Linked DNA regions of Homo sapiens: all the other regions are linked to region 2. The links are contacts of gene promoters, found by promoter capture Hi-C in blood cells and fetal thymus (Javierre and others, 2016). All regions are on one chromosome and are shown on one strand. Each heading gives the region's core, a stretch centred on a gene start or on the middle of the fragment in contact. The rest is flanking DNA. Distances are from core to core; before and after follow the strand shown.

Evidence for each region. Contacts are between HindIII fragments. The CHiCAGO score rates a contact against its expected background, and 5 or more counts as called.
Region 1: a fragment that was not itself captured here is called in contact with the fragment with the promoter of IGFBP2 in region 2 in 5 of 17 cell types (total B cells, erythroblasts, neutrophils and 2 more); the score reaches 7.2 in total B cells.
Region 3: a fragment that was not itself captured here is called in contact with the fragment with the promoter of IGFBP2 in region 2 in 2 of 17 cell types (erythroblasts and total CD4 T cells); the score reaches 6.6 in erythroblasts.
Region 4: a fragment that was not itself captured here is called in contact with the fragment with the promoter of IGFBP2 in region 2 in 1 of 17 cell types (erythroblasts); the score reaches 5.8 in erythroblasts.
Region 5: a contact is called between a fragment that was not itself captured here and the fragment with the promoter of IGFBP2 in region 2, in 2 of 17 cell types (non-activated CD4 T cells and neutrophils). The highest score is 5.9, in non-activated CD4 T cells.
Region 6: a contact is called between a fragment that was not itself captured here and the fragment with the promoter of IGFBP2 in region 2, in 1 of 17 cell types (fetal thymus). The highest score is 6.0, in fetal thymus.

What each region holds. Positions count from the first base shown.
Region 1 is chr2:217,712,131-217,714,830 of GRCh38, forward strand. All of the region lies in intron 2 of DIRC3 (disrupted in renal carcinoma 3), which reads right to left. Among named protein-coding and RNA genes, the nearest start is that of DIRC3, 77 kb to the right of the region's middle. RefSeq lists an enhancer at 1,595-1,644. The HindIII fragment of the contact is 4,216 bases long and covers 1-2,700 here.
Region 2 is chr2:216,631,970-216,634,669 of GRCh38, forward strand. It overlaps IGFBP2 (insulin like growth factor binding protein 2), which reads left to right and starts at 1,451. Exons shown (of 4, transcript NM_000597.3): 1 at 1,451-1,996. The coding sequence starts at 1,555. The HindIII fragment of the contact is 7,523 bases long and covers 65-2,700 here.
Region 3 is chr2:217,752,943-217,755,642 of GRCh38, forward strand. The region is part of intron 2 of DIRC3 (disrupted in renal carcinoma 3); the gene reads right to left. Among named protein-coding and RNA genes, the nearest start is that of DIRC3, 36 kb to the right of the region's middle. The HindIII fragment of the contact is 679 bases long and covers 988-1,666 here.
Region 4 is chr2:217,632,325-217,635,024 of GRCh38, forward strand. All of the region lies in intron 2 of DIRC3 (disrupted in renal carcinoma 3), which reads right to left. Among named protein-coding and RNA genes, the nearest start is that of DIRC3, 160 kb to the right of the region's middle. The HindIII fragment of the contact is 826 bases long and covers 1,012-1,837 here.
Region 5 is chr2:217,693,324-217,696,023 of GRCh38, forward strand. All of the region lies in intron 2 of DIRC3 (disrupted in renal carcinoma 3), which reads right to left. It also overlaps the pseudogene LOC100533848. Among named protein-coding and RNA genes, the nearest start is that of DIRC3, 96 kb to the right of the region's middle. The HindIII fragment of the contact is 5,943 bases long and covers 1-2,700 here.
Region 6 is chr2:217,733,734-217,736,433 of GRCh38, forward strand. The region is part of intron 2 of DIRC3 (disrupted in renal carcinoma 3); the gene reads right to left. Among named protein-coding and RNA genes, the nearest start is that of DIRC3, 55 kb to the right of the region's middle. The HindIII fragment of the contact is 4,058 bases long and covers 1-2,700 here.

The DNA.
Region 1 (2,700 bases), core at 108-2,607, 1.1 Mb after region 2:
AGATGGATAGAGCCTAGAGGAGGAATTAAGGGTGTGCACTTAGCCATCACTACTCTACCTCTGTTGAGCTGTGCCATCTTGGACTAGTTACACAGTTTCTCTGGGCCTCAATGTCATCATCTGTAAAATGAGATTATTAAGAGTTGTACCCAGTTGTGGGTACATAGTACCTAGCACATGCTCAGTGCTCAATGAATGGTGGTTGATGATGTCAAAAAGGAATTCTGACTTTCAGGCTCTGTCTATGTTGCTCTGTCCTTCCACTCCTCCCCATCCCACACATCCAAAGTATATCTTGTAATTGTGACCCTGGGTGTGCCTTGAAGGGTTTGGCTCTTTCTTTTTCCTATGCACTCCTCCTGGAAAACAGCAGACCTGCTGAGGCAACCAGCACAGAAACAGAGCTCGTGCCGACTCCCAACTGCCGGGGATACAAAGGGCTGCTAGGGAGATGGAGCAGGAAGCACAGCCCTGGAAGAGTGCACTGTCCCCCCAGCATCCGACAACCGGCCTCTCAGTGTGGAGCTCTGTGGGGCACAGTTGACGACTGTCACTCACATCCACTGACACCACCGTCTATGCCATTTGTCAGCAAGCAGAATGTCCTCATGTGGTTTGACCTGACTCTCTCAAGTCCTGGGGAACAAGGTTGCACCCTCCACATGAAAACAACCAGCTCAATGCACAGAGTCTGGTCAGATTCACAGCTGGAGTTTGCATCTGTCACCCACCACCCTGCAAGGTTCTATTCTTCAATTCGACCAAATAACTTGTAACTGGGGACACAGCCCAAACATGGAACCAGGAAAGGTCAAGGTTCCAAGCTACCTTCGAGATCATCTGATCCAATAACTTCATTGTTCTGGTAGGAAAAGCAAATCCCAGCGAGGGGACTTACCAGAGATCATACAGTTGGCCAGGGAGTGGCTCAAGGATCTAGGAGTAGCAGAGGCATCTTCACCCCCCCTCACCTGGGAGAAAACAGAACCACAAAGAGGGGGAGGTCGGCTGGTGGAGGGGACTGACACCGGTTGCATTTCAGGGGCTTCGCAAGGGGTAGAATGAGCACTGGACTGAGGGTTAGAAGACCAGGGTCCCCCACGTGTCTCTGCCTCGAATCAGCTGGGCCCCCGTGAGCTGTCACTTCCCCTCTCTTTGGGTCTCAATTCTCTCTTATAAAACGGAGCATCCCATCCACCTCTAAGAATGGGTTCAAGGAGCAGATGAAAATGTGTTTTGAAAATCCTGAGGCTCTACATATGTACAACCAAATTCTGCCCATCTACACAGCCACTTTTAGCTGTTGTCCCCAAGGCCTGGAAGCAGGCAGAGGGGAGAGTTAGGTAAGCTCTCTGAGCACATCCAAGGCTGGAGGGCTTCCCTCAGCAAAGGGGGCCCAGAGCACCAGGCTAAATCCATGTCATTCAAGCAGCGCTCAGGTTGTGTCTAAGCAGCTTTGATTTTAAAAGATTAGGAGGGCCGCAGGGTGGAAAGAAAAGTTGATGAGGCAACAAAGTCCTGCCCGCAGTACCACACTGCCCTCTGCAGGGTGTCTGTGAGAAGGCACCTCGGCTGGCCAGGTCAGGTTAATTCCGACTGCCCAGGGTCACAGATCCATTCCCGTGCCTCCACGCAGTGCAAGCCCTCTCCAAGTAGAAACAGGGATTGGGGGGGTGCTGCAACCACCCTCAGTAATCTGCTCTGTCTTCAAACAGCGCAGGCCTTTCTTGGTGTCTGGCCCGAATCTTCCTCTTGTCCTGACACCAACCATCTTCCAACCTGCCCTCCGAGGAGCCTGCCTTAGCGTCTCTTGCTTGTGACTCTAAAGCCAGGATTTAGAAGGTTCTAGAAAACAGAACAGCCCTGGCTCCTGCCCACCTCATTGTACCCTCTTTTCTCCAGAATAAGGTGGTTTCTCCATACCCTGGACATATTTTGGTCCTTGGAGAAAGCCCCCACACTGAAGGAGACGTGTCTTGCCTGAATCAACAGACAAGCCAGCGTCCTGCAGGTCTCAGTGATGAACCAAAAAGTCTGTGACTTTCACGAACATCAGACCCAATCTCCACAAATGATCTGGGATTGCGGGGGACATCCAGGGCCCAGAGCCTGCCCCCACGGCAACAAGGAATGTCCTCCAAGGCCCTCATGGCACCAGACCTTCCCCCTTCTCCATCCTCTCCCTGGCTGTGTGGTTCAGAGTGGGGCACTCTGCAGCTGGCTGACCAGCCTCCAGGCATGGGCTCAGGCCATGCTCCCTGTGTGCCCTGTGCAGACCCGGGGAGACGCTGCAGCCGGCCTGGCCATGTGACACGGGTGATTCACACACGCAGACGCCCAGACCAGTTTCTCCTTTCTTCCTCTCCCAGGCCATTACAAAAGGCACAGTCTCAGCACAGTGCTGCATTGTTCCCAGGGTCAGCAGAGGCTGGAAGCTGAGGGGAATTAGGAAGACAGGGAGTTGAGCAGCGTAGAGTGGTTTTCCATGCAGCATATGCACCTCGTGCAAGCCAAGCCCACTTCCTGTCTTGGCTCCAGCTCTGGAGCTCAAGTTTATATCTCCCTCCTTCAGAACCAACTTCGGTTTGGGTTGTTGGCTTCTTTAATTTTCCACTCTCCGCACGTGTGCATTTCTTTGAAAAATATGCACGTGCTGTGTCTTTTTTCTTCTCCAGCACACATCATTCTTTAGAGACTATA
Region 2 (2,700 bases), core at 201-2,700:
TTGCTTCAGGTGGTCCCTCTGCCTGTGCCCTTGCTAACCGCCCATTTCCTCTGGTAGAATTACAAGCTTCAATTTCAGCTCCGACTCACCCAAGAAACTCCCCTTTCCTCAACCACCACATCACCTCTCTACCAAAATATTTCTTTTCTTCAAAGCCTCTGATAAACATTTATTTATTTATTTTTTATCTTACCAAAGTCTTTCCCGATAACTCTTCCCAGCTTGGCGTCTTAAGACCAGGTACTTGCCTTCCTGGAGGCATCTAGGTCACCTTCAGAGCCAGGTGGCCATTGGGTTAACTAGCTGTTGAACTGAATCAAACAGGCTCTGAGCCTTGAAGTCAGAAAGAGCCAGAGTGGAGGGGTCTGGGGGGAAGAGGGGCGCTGAGGTATAGGGAGATGAAACCTGCGGTGGAGGCAGCTTAATGGTCCACCTGTCACCCAAGGAATCTCTCTGACAGGGGTCTTTGTTAGGGTCACACCCCAGGAGATGGTTGATTATGGCTGAGTCCAGCCTGGAATGATGGGGGTTGGGGGCAGCTTGGGTAGATGACTCAGTAAATCAAACAGAACAATGAAAGGAGGTCATGCTTGTCCATCTGCATTATTGAAGACAGCCATAAATGGCCTTACCCCAGAGCGGGTCTGTCACACCTGGAGAGCTGATCTGACCTCTCCAAGACCCCTGCAACTGAGTGTTCTGGGATCTGTCCTGCAACAAGTGCCTCGAGATTTGTAGGTGGGGGCCCAGGGTGCTAAGGGATTATTTTAGCGGGCGGAGAAGGGAGGGGGTCTGCAGACGAAGGGGGCAGGTTTTGCGGGGCACTTAGGGTTCTCATAGGTTGTAGTCACGAGCTCCCAGGTTTGGAAAACTGCAATAGTCACTAAGACCATTCGGGGCTGTTTGGGTCTAGCTTGGTCTAGACGGGTCTGAAACTCCGCAGGACCCACCCAACAAGAAGTCATTGTTCCAAGCCACGTGTCAGTGGTGGGTGATACCCCAGGATGGAAGGAGTTGGTATGAGCCGACTGAAATCTACTTGAAGGTCAAAACGGAGCCTTATGTCTTTTGTGTTCCCCAGCGGTTAGCCCAGTGCCGGCCACAGGGGAAGCGCGCAAACGAAGTCCTCGCGAACTGAACTGAGAGCAGACAAAAGCACGCGCTCTTCTCCACCGCCACGCCGGTCCTACCCAAACCCGCGAGTTATCCGTATTCTCCTTCAGGAGTCATAGTCAGGCCAGAAGAGTGCGGAGGGACGGGGCCCGGGAAGAGCAGGGAACCCCCAGAGCCCGCAGCCAACGCGGAGGTGGGCGAGCGGGCGTGCGCGCACTCACTTGCCGGCGCGAGGGAGTGTCGGGGGGGAAGGGAGTGGTCTCCAAAAGGGGGAGGGGAGAAGGCAGGGGGCGGGGAGAAGCCGGCCCTTTAGGACCCGGCTGCGGCGGCGAGGGAGGAGGAAGAAGCGGAGGAGGCGGCTCCCGCGCTCGCAGGGCCGTGCCACCTGCCCGCCCGCCCGCTCGCTCGCTCGCCCGCCGCGCCGCGCTGCCGACCGCCAGCATGCTGCCGAGAGTGGGCTGCCCCGCGCTGCCGCTGCCGCCGCCGCCGCTGCTGCCGCTGCTGCTGCTGCTACTGGGCGCGAGTGGCGGCGGCGGCGGGGCGCGCGCGGAGGTGCTGTTCCGCTGCCCGCCCTGCACACCCGAGCGCCTGGCCGCCTGCGGGCCCCCGCCGGTTGCGCCGCCCGCCGCGGTGGCCGCAGTGGCCGGAGGCGCCCGCATGCCATGCGCGGAGCTCGTCCGGGAGCCGGGCTGCGGCTGCTGCTCGGTGTGCGCCCGGCTGGAGGGCGAGGCGTGCGGCGTCTACACCCCGCGCTGCGGCCAGGGGCTGCGCTGCTATCCCCACCCGGGCTCCGAGCTGCCCCTGCAGGCGCTGGTCATGGGCGAGGGCACTTGTGAGAAGCGCCGGGACGCCGAGTATGGCGCCAGCCCGGAGCAGGTTGCAGGTAACGCGGTCTGGAACAAGTAGTTGGGAGAAACTTGGAGGGCAGCGGAGAAGCCCGACGGGCGGCTGGACCTTACGGACGGTTTTAGGGGCGGCAGAGCCGAGACCTTGGACCAAATCAAGGGGGACTGTTGCTAGCGGGACGCGGAAGTCAGGCCCGGGGAGGGGAACTGGAGTTAGAGCAAGTGGAAGAGCCCTGGCGACTCATTTGGTGGGGATGAATGGGGAGAGGAAAGGCATCCCTGCTGCCATAGTTTTACCCGCGTGGAACGGACCCAGACTTCTATTCTGGAGGAGGGATTTGCTGAGAAGGGGGCCGGTGGTCAGATCCATGGGAGTAGGAACTCGAATCTTATTTGGGGCACTGCTTGAGGACCCAAGGGTCCTGGTGGGATCGCTGCTGGGAGGCGGAGGCTGCGGGGTGCCAGTGACACCAGGAACCTTGGAAGAGGAGAGGGAGCTAGGAGGAGGCACCGGCGTCCCAAGGGGCCCTTCCTTCTACTGGGGTTGTGAGTTGGAAAGAAAGGACTTGGTACTTTGTAGGATGAGTCGCTTAGGAGAAAAATGAAAACCACCACTACTATTTCTCCATAGGGAACGAGCAGGGCTCTTGCTACCACGTTGAATGGAAAAATAAAAGGGAGGCATTTGGTAGGCGAGGGGTCTCCTAGCAGCTGAATCAATGTAACTTAAGCCCGATCGCCG
Region 3 (2,700 bases), core at 77-2,576, 1.1 Mb after region 2:
GAACGACCCAATCCCCTCCACACAGCCCTTTTCCCCAAATCACTCACATGCCTGCCCCCATCAGCCCTGAACACCCAACCCCAGCCTGCACAGAAGACCTGCAGCCTGGAAGCAGGCAGGCTCGGAGCCCTGCAAGGGTTGGGGGTTGGCTCTGTCCATCTTTGGATCCCCACCCCCAGCCCTGTCCAAGACATTTGTCCTCAAAGGAGCTTTATTTGGTCTTCTCTCCATTTTTGTGCAAGCCTAGTGAGAAGCCATGGCCAGCAAGAGGAAGCAACAGCCACCTGCTTGGAACTCATTTGAGAGGGGCTGAAATAGGCCACCTGTTCCCAGGCTTCCCTCCCACGCAGTAGGTCACAGAGTCTGGCCACTAGGAGAAGGTCCGAGAATGTTAAGGTTTGAAGAGACCTAAGAGCCTAACCTTCCAGCGGAAGCCTCTGTCCCTCCAGGCTGGGGCAAAGAGGGCTGACCCCAGGTGGCAGCACGCGGGTCACATTTGATTCACATGATTTGGCCTCTGGTGAGCCTAAGCGCTGTGGAGCAAGGGGTGGGAGTTCCCACTCAGGAGTAAGACTGCCGGGATCTAAATCCCGGTTCTGCCACTTCCTATCTGAAAAACACATGCCTCAGTTTCCTTCTCTATGAAACACAGCCCCATCGCCAGGCTGAGTGCAGACTCTTTGGGGCAGATCCTTCACCAGCCCATTTTGCAGATGAGGAAACTGAGGTGAATGAGCCGGCACTGTGACCCCACGTGCTTCATTCTAAGCATAGAGATCTTGCCGCTTCAGCAAGCCAACTTCCTTCCCCAGGGAAGGCTGGGAAACAGTAACTGGAGAAGGGGGCAGGAGGGTCTCTGCCTGGGTGCAAGGCTCAAGGCTGGCCAGTCCTGCCATTCTTCTTGCCTCTGGTTTTTCCGAATTCTGCCTCTCCCTCTGGAAAGCCATTGCAGGCAGGGCACTCCCAAGCCTCGTTTACAAAATTATAAGCTTCCTTTGTCCCCAGTCTCCTCTGGTTACAATAACACTCATCAGCTCTCCAGAGCTTTCAGGGGCATGGAAAATGTGACTTCACTCCTCAAGGATTTCTGATTTAACAAAATGGCATTGGGGAAAGAAAATGAAAAAGAATGTCTCTGTCCATCCCTGATAGAAAAGGCAATAGGGCTCCAGCCTCCCAGCCCAGAGTCAAGAGCCAAGAGCTCCCAGAGGGTCCAGAAGGCACAGACAGGGGACCCTCAATCCCCCTTGGACCCCACAGACTGGAAATCAGCCTCTCTGGGTGGGGCCTAAGGGGAAAAGGGAGGGAAAGGGTCACTGAAGACAGGTGCCAAAGGCAGGAAATAAATACATCCTGTCTTGCCATTCCCCAATTTGACAACTTTATTATTCCTGTCCTTCTTTATTCAGTCAGTCCATCAGTCACTTGTCCTAAGTGCTTAAAATGAGTGACTCTGGTGTCCAACCACCTGGGATAGTATTCTGGCTCTGCCATCTTTCCAAGCCTCAGTTTTCTCATCTGCAAAATAGAGACAATGTAGTCTGGACTTTATAGAGCTGCTGTGAAAACTAATGAGATACCATGCTAAGGGCTTCACACCATGCCAGCAGATCAGAAGCTCTCAAGACATGGTAGCTCTTGGTGCTGTCACTCATGGGAATTGCAAAGCTTTGTCAAGCAGAGCAATGTGTCTGAGGCTGGACTGTTGGGAGTACCCATCTCATGGCACCTGCAGTCTAGAGACCCAGCCCTGGAGGCTCCTAGCTGGCCCATTACTTTAAGTCCTGAACACCAGGGCTAGTCTAATAGGTAGACTGGCAGGGTAAGGAGAAGGGCTTAGTGAGTGCTTGCTGCATACAAGACGCTGTGCAGGTGCTAAGGAAAATTCAGAAATAGCAACTATAAATCAAACTCCACGATTTCAGGTATATGAGAAATATAATTTTCAAAAAAATTATTTAAGTCAAGTTAAATCCATCTCTGAGCCCCCATCCCACCTGAGACAGCAAATTTTGTCCTGGTCATTAATGGAACCCGCCCATCCTCTCTCTCACCAGCATCACTGGAAGGGGTGCATGCGTGGTCACTGGCCATTTGTCCCCACTGGTTACACTGAGATAACTGATGCAAGGCCACACAGTACCCAGGAGCCCAGGGGCTCTGCTGCTTCTGTGCCAAACAGTGCCAGAGAAAGCTAGTCACAGACACATCACACTGTCAGCCCACTCTGAGGTCCTGCCCACCCTGGGCATTGACAGGGAAAAGGGTGCTCTGCCTCCGGGACTCTTCCCTCAAAGGCACTCACATCTCAAAGAACTCAGGCTCCCAGAAAGGAAGAAAAAAGAAAAGAAAGCAATTCCTACTCCCTGGCCTGCAGCAGCAAGTCTCCCAAAGCAGGGATCTCAAAGGAGCAGGCTGTTTACATGGGGGGAGTTGGGGGCAGTAGAGACAAAAATATAAGGATAACAGAAAATGAATCGTCGTATCTCAGAGACGGCCCCTCTAAAGAGGTGACTTCCAGGGGCTCCCAACAAGACACCTGCACCCCCTCCACCTTCTACCCCTACCCCATCACCCGCAGGCAGAGGAAGCAGCAAACCACATAGTGACATTTCAGGACTAACAAAAAGCCCTCCAGGAAGTAAATCAATCTCCCCCAAGCTTCCTGAACACCTACACTCTCCTTCATCTAAGGCAGAT
Region 4 (2,700 bases), core at 175-2,674, 1.0 Mb after region 2:
TCTGATTTCCTTCCCTCCTGCAGGACCAGTATTCAGATGAGCCTCTCATCTCAGACTTTTGGGAAAACACAGCCAGAAAAAAAAAAAAATGCTTTCTGCAAATCCAGCATCCTCTCAACACAGTCCCCTAAAACTCATAAATGCCACTTTGAGGGAATACTATTGTTCAGGGCCTCACATAGTTTAGCCAGGAGAGAGCAAGGTGGTCTCTATTTGCAGTGGCTTCTATCTCTATGTTTTGGGGATTGCTGGCAAACAACACAACACAGACCAACAGGGCATTTCATCCACAAAAACCTATGCATGCTATTTATCAAATGGTCCCTCTGCATGTATGCATGTGCGTGTGTATACATATATCCATATATGTACGTGTGTGTATATAGTCATATGCCACACAATGATGTCTTGCTCAATGATGGACCACATATACAACAGTGGTTCCCATAAGATGATAATACCATATTTTTACTGTACCTTTTCTTATTTAGATATATTTAGATATACAAATACTACTGTGTTGCAAGTGCCTACAGTATCTAGTACAGTAACATGCTGTACAGGTTTGTAGCCTAGGAGTAACAGACTATATCATACAGTAGCATAGGTGTTTAGTAGGCTCTACGGTTGAGGTTTATGTAAATACACTCTACGATGTTCACACAATGACAGAAGTCACCTAATGACATATCCCGGGAACAAATCTTTGTTGGTAAGTAATGCATGACTCGTGTGTGTGTGTGTGTGTGTGTGTGTGTGTGTGTGGTGTGTGTGGTGTGTGTGTTGTGTGCATGCGTGTTTTAAATTCAGGAAATGTGAGCTCTGCAAACCTGGTGGACAAATTCCTATAAAGGAGGCCCACCAGGCATTTTGTGCCACTTTGCCCCCTGTGCCCTGTATCCAAGAAAAGTCCATAAGAACAAGTCTCCCCTCACCACTGCAACTCCTACTCCTTGGCAAATGCTTGATTGTCAGAGTTTTCCAAACCCACATCAGCTCTTGAAAGAAGGAAGCTTAAGGCAGGTGGGGGAAATCTGGGGGATACTGGAAGCCCTCCAGACTAGGCACAGATTCTGCTGCCTCACTTTTTAATGGTGAGCAGGGACAGGTGACCCCAACCTTCAGCTCTCCTCTCTAAAGCCCTGAAAATTCCTCTTGGCCTTCCTGAACTCTCCAGGGCTCTACTCTGGCCATGAACCAACAGACTGTCTCTCCACTAAGCCCTCACCAGCAACCCCTGGGCTTCATTTGTTCCAGCCAGAGCTGGAGGAAGGACAAGGTCCTTTTCTGCTCTGCATGATATGAGGTCTGCATTACCAGCCCAACCTACACCAGGAAATTAATAAAAGGACTCAGATGTGGGATTGTGATCCAGACTCCAGGGATAAAGATGCCCCTTCTTCCAGGGAACAATGGTGATTGGAGGAAAGAAAATCCAGAAGTGTACAAGTTGCTCTTCATACTTCCTGGCAGCCTTCTAGAACATATTGTGAATTACTCTTAGGTAATGTCATGAAGGACACAGAGCTTGCACCCTTGAGCCAAAGGGTAATGTACTGCACACACCTCAAGTGCAATTCATCACCCCTTGGGCTGAAGAGGCCACATGGTGATGGTTTTAATTAATGTCCCCTGAAGGCCTGGAGACCTCTGGCTGATTCCAATAGTGATGCCCCGCCCTGGAGCCTCTCAGGACACCACATCCATACAGGCTTATTCCTAGGAGGAAAAGTTGCAAACGGAGTTTCTTAGGTCTGGAGACATCTCAGTCACTATATAAATCCTCTCCTAGGGCCACTGACCAGGACCATGCCTTATGCCTTAAAAGATCCCAGGAAGCTTATTTATAATCATTCCAAATGCCTGAGAGATTGATAACTCAGGCCCATTAACCTTGGAAAACCCTCCAAAATGTCTAAACTAAATCCCTACAACTACTACCAAAATCTACTTTCTCATATCCTTCAAACACTTCCTTGGCTCCTGACCCTTTGGCCGGAGGATTAATTCCAAGCTGCCCCTAACACTTCATAGAAAGTCCGTCATGATCTGTACCCAATCTACAATCTTAAACTCAATTCTTATTACACCTACTTGTGTCCTCGGTGCCACAGCCACACTAAGCTGATCATTAGTCTCCAACCACACGCTGCACGTGACCCACACTGATCTTCCCCTCACCTTCTACATGGCTACCACACCCAACTCCACTCTACTGCCTTCTAAGGAACTAGCTCAATTGCCACTTGGGTCCATGAAGCATTCCACTCTAAGTCAGAATTAACAGCTACTACTTTTGTCTTGCCATGGAAGGAAATATGAACTTAGAGAGCAAGTCAGGACAAAACCTCATTCATTAGTTTATTCATAAACATCTACTGAGCTGCTAGAGTATTCCAAGCCCCCAGCACTTTGCTAAGAACTGTCACTCTAAAAAACTGAATAAGACACGGTTGGACCTTCCAGCTGCCCGTAGTCTAACAGGACAGTCAGATAAAATAACACAAGCCACAGTAAAACATGATGCTTGCTCTAGTGGACATGTAAATATCATGCTGGGGCAGAGGGAGCACCAGGACAAAGGATATATGTGCCCAACAAGTAAGCTAATTCAGACCCAAGCTAATTCTTGCTGCTGAAGAAACATCAGCAACCACAGGAAAGGGCCTTGGGAACTATGTGACTGATATATGGAAAAAA
Region 5 (2,700 bases), core at 99-2,598, 1.1 Mb after region 2:
ATGTTGTCATTCTCTTATTTTCACCCTGACTTTACAAATGCAGAAACTGAGGCTTAGATTGACTTATGCACCTTTTTCCTCAGAAAGACTTCCAGGAGCCCCAGCTGAAAATTGAGGAGCTAGTTTGAGCCTCTTGCTTTATGAAGTTTGTTCATTCATCTCTTTATCTCTTCCATCAGTGGCTACATTTCTCTGCCAAATGGTGGACACAAACCCGCAGACCCTAAATTGTGAGGTCATTTATTCATTCAACAAATATCTATTTTTGAATTCCCATGTGATAAGAATATGATGATGAAACAAACATAGGTTCTGCCCTCAGAATACTTTCAACCTGGTAGGGTAGATAAGAAATGCATGGAAATAAGATAGAAAACAGATCACAGGTGCTGAACTTAATGGGCTGCAGGATGCCAGCCTGATTTCCAGGCTGACATTGGCCCTTTGGTGTCCCTGTCTGGAGCTCCTAAAGCTAGATCCCTGGGCTCCAGGCCCTTAGTATGACCCACACCTTAGAGTTGCACCTTCATGCAACCCAACCTCATCCTCCAGGGCCCATGTCATCCACTTCATGGACAAGACAACACCAAAAATTTATTTGGTGTAGCTCAGTGGAACTAAAAATGTAGAGAAAAAAGAGCCAAAGGGAGAGGCAAGGAAAAGTACAGGCGCCGGAAGAACAATTGCTTGGAACTCAAAAACAATCACCAGAAAGAGAAACACAGGAAAGAACTTGACCTGGATGACCACAAATTCAGCAATAAGGAATTGAAAGATAAATATGGTGCAAACATACAGGTCTCTCCAGCATGAGAGCTTCAGAGCTCCTGGCTTGGGATCACCCTAATTTAGGCCTCTCAAAGAAACATCAAAGATTGTCAAGTTTCGGTGCCAGCATTCTTCATCCCTCTGTGGCATTCCTGTGCTGGGTTGCATTTAGCATTCAGTACTCCTGTGATAAGTCTGTGTCCCTAGACAATGTGTATGTGAGTTCTGTGCTTACTCTGGTTGCGGGGATCTTTGCTTATTACCAAGAGGTGAAAAACACCAATATCATGGCCACCTTCAGTAAAATTATTCTTCAGCAAGCTCTTGTTGTCTGAGATACAGAGAAGAATGCAACTTCTGCATAACAGTTGGTAACCAGGATACAGTGAAGATTAAAGGATAACACTAAATTCCTACAGATATCAGGTTGCTGGCTTTTCAGAGAGGTAGGGTAGATAACTCATCTATCAATGGGATGTCCAAGCCACAGTCCTGCTCATGTGACTTGTCTCATGACAATCCCCTGGAAATAAAAAATACTGTCTTCTCTTCCACAACCTGTTTAGAAGGCACAGCAACTGGCACAGTTGCCAACACAGGCAATGGCACCATCATTGGACAGATGGCCTCACTGACTTCAGAAGCTGGAAATGAGAAGATACTCATTGCCAGTGAGATCAAGCACCTTGCTTGCATTGTGGCAGGAATTCATAGGCATCCTTTTCTTCATCATCAGTGTCCATGAAGTATCATGCATTGAACCCTTCCATCTTCCTCACTGGCGTCACGTGGCCAATGTACCTAAGGGCCTCCTTGTCACTGTCACTTTCACTCTGTTACTGACAGAAAATGGATGGCCAAGTAGAACTGCCTGGTAAGAACCTGGAAGTGCTGGAGACCCCCAGTTCCACCCCATCATTTGCACTGACAAGACTGGCACTCTGACTCACAACAGGATCCATCCATGGTGTAACAGATTAATGTGGCTGACACACGTGAAGAACAGTCAACCCAAGTCTTTGCCCGAGGCTCTGGAATCTGGGACTCCTTATTCATGATAATATTGTGTAACCATGTTGAGTTCAAACCAGGACAGGAAAGTGTTCTCAACATGGAGAAAGTTGTGGTTGAAGATGCCCCAGAAACTGCCCTTGGAAATTCTCAGCAGTCATTTTGGGTGATGTCATGGAAATTAGAAAATGAAACTGCAAAGTAGCCAGGCTGAAATCCCTTTTGACTCTACCAACAAGTTTCAGCTCCTCATACATCAGCTGATGATCCCAATAATAAATGCTTTCTCATGGTGATGAAGGGTCCCTGGAGATCTCAGTGAAGTGCAGCCGAAGGACATAAGTCAGGAATAGCTGAGTGAGCTGTTAAAGATCCTCTCAGAAGCCATCTTTGCTCAGACCTCTGACCAACAGAAACTGGGTGAGCTGTCAGAGACAGGATGCTTTGACAGAGAATGGAGTCAATGCTCTAAATAGGTAGATATCAGGATTGCCATGAGAAAAGCAGGTCCTGACGTAGTAAGAATTCAGGGTACACAGCCTTAATGAACAACAATGTGACAACTTTGCATCTACAGTCACAAGATGAAGGAAGGTTACCTACTCTTTGACAACCTACAGATTACTGCTTACACTTCAAGAACATTGCTGGTTTGTTGTTGTTGTTGTTGTTGTTGTTGTTGTTGTTGTTGTTGTTTGAGATGGAGTCTCGCTCTGTTGCCCAGGCTGGAGTGCAGGGGTGCCATCTTGGCTCACTGCAAGCTCCACCTCCCGGGTTCACGCCATTCTCCTGCCTCAGCCTCCTGCGTAGCTGGGACTACAGGCGACGGCCACCAGGCCTGGCTAATTTTTTGTATTTTTAGTAGAGATGGGGTTTCACCATTCACAGGATGGTCTCGATCTCCTGACCTCATGATCCACC
Region 6 (2,700 bases), core at 58-2,557, 1.1 Mb after region 2:
GAGGCATAATCACTGCCCCTGAGAATCTTCCATCCCATAGAAGAAAAGAGAAAAAATTGTCTGCTGGATCCCTCGCATCTCCTGTCTTTCATAGGTCAAAGTTTTCTACATGAGGCACTATCTCCCCATGTTGCTGGGCTGTAGCCTTGCTTGGCATCTTGGGGCAGTCCCTACCAAAGGCATCAAAGAAGCAAGGAAAGCAGTGTGGCACTTCAGCAGAGACTAGAATGGGGAGGCATCTGAGGATCAGGTTGGATCAGGTTGGCCACAGCAGAAGCAGTAGAGGTGATGTTGGAGCTCAAAACTCATCCCACAGGAGGGAACCCATGGGCAGCAGCGTGACTGTGGCAGCAGACACAGAGGATCAGTCTCCATGAGCAAGCAGTGAGGTCCTAAGAGAAAAGAAAGGTCCAGCAAATCCGAGGTGATGCAGACATTAAAGCAATGGGGTGGGAGGGGCAGGCCCCAAAAGGACAGCGCTGTTCTTAGCAGGAAGGGGTCATATAGGGACAAAACAATAGGTTCAGGAATAGAAGCCTGCCAGGTTGAACAACAAAAGATTCAACCAAAACAAGGTATTTGTAGAATGTAGACATCAAGGGCAAACAAACAGGTATAGGCAATGCAGACAGAGCCTCAGAGGTGGGCTTGCCAGAGCTGTATCAGTGTTCTCCACTTTTCTCCCTCTCTCAACCCTGACCACAGCTCTCCACTTTCATCTTCCCTTCTTCTGAGCATCTGTTCTGGGCCAGAGCCCATCTCAGGCAAATAATGCATGGTCTGTGCCTGCATTCGTATACCTGATTCCAAGTACGTCTCACCTTCTCCTCAACCAAGCCATCATCTCCCACCAGTCTCCATGATCCTCTCCTAACTCAGTGGTCCCCAACTGTATTAATCCTTTTTCATGCTGCTACAAGGACATACCCAAGACTGGGTAATTTATAAAGAAAAGAGATTTAACTGACTCACAGTTCTGCAGGGCTGAGGAGGCCTCAGGAAACTTAAAATCATGGCAGAAGAGAAAGCAAACACATCTTTCTTCAGAAGGCAGCAGGAGAGAGAAGAATGAGAGCCGAGCAAAGGGGGAAGCCCCTTATAAAACCATCAGATCTCAAGACAACTTACTATCACAAAAATAGCATGGGGGAAACCTCCCCCGTGATTCAATTACCTCCTACTGGGTCCCTCTTGTGACACATGGGGATTATGGGAACTACAATTCAAGATGATATTTGGGTGGGGACACAGCCAAACCATATCACCAATCTTTGTGGCACCAGGGACCAGTTTCATGGTGGACCAGGTGTGGGGGTAGGGGGAGAAACTGTTCCATCTCACATCATCAGGCATTAGGTTCTCATAAGGAGCACAAACCTAGGTCCCTTACATGCACAGTTCACAGTAGGGTTTGTGCTCCTATGAGAATCTAATGACACCACTGATCTGACAGGATGTGGTGCTCAGGTGGTAATGTTTGCTCACCCCCTCCCCCACTCACCTCCTGCTCTGTGGCCTGGTTCCTAATAGGCCATGGACTGATACCTCTATGGCTTGGGAACTGGGGTCCCCTGTCCTAACTGGTCCCCTGCTTTTCCATCTTTGTTTCACTTCAGTGTCTTCTATACACAGCAACCAGGTGATCCTTTTAAAACCCAAATCAGATCATATTTATTCCCTTCCTCAAATCCTCCAAAGACTTCCCATCACACCTCAGACAAAATCCATGCTCATTGTTCCCCCGGCATGATCTGACCTCCAGCCTCCTGCCCGCCATTCTCCCCTTCACTGCTCCCAGTTTCAACTGCACTGGCCATCTTGCTGTTCTAGAGCCCAGGCAGCATGCTCCCACCTCAGGGCCTTTGCTCCTGCTGTTTTCCCTCCTTAAACCACTCTTCCTCCAGAGAGCAGCGTGGCTCGTGCCCTTGTTTCTTTCAGGGCTATGTCCAAAGTCAGCTCCTCAAAAAGGCCTCCCTGATCATCCAAGCTAAAACAGCACTCTGCTTCATGCTGTTCCCCTTACTCTGTTTCTCTAGTCCTTATAATACTACTTACCATTCATGACATCAAATTATGGGTGGGGGGGTGCAGGTTTATTTCTCCCTCTTCTCCCTTCCTTTTAGAATGTAAGCTGCATGCAGAAAGGGGCTTTGTTATATTCCCTACTGTAGCTAGAATAATGCCTGACACCACCGAGCTCTCAATAAATATTGGTGCAATAAATGGATTAATCTGGTGGGAGACAGATTGGCCACTACGGTATGACAAGGGCTGGCATAGATACAAGAACAAGAGTCTTGGGTTACATTCTCCAGCCAGAGGGGTCTGGGAAGTCCCAAAGGGCATGAGCAGCTGGGATTCATCCTGCTTGCAGTTTCCAAACCAGTTCAAAAACAACAGGAGATTCTGATCAGACAGAGTTGGCTGATAGGGAAGAGCCAAACTGCTTCTGGTGCGGGGCAGTTCAAGGTGAGCTCAATGAAGTCACTTAGGGCCTGTGCTTAAAATACTGTTTATTTTCTATTTTTAAAAATGTTTGTCATTGAAATGTCATGGTGGAAGGGGAGTTTGGGAATCATCTAGGCCAGCTATCCTGCTGCACGGGTCAGAAAACTGCATCTCAGAGACAGAAAATGACTTTTTCCAAGTGACAGGGTGAGTTGGTGGTCAAGTCTGCTCCCCTGTCTGGGATGCATAGAC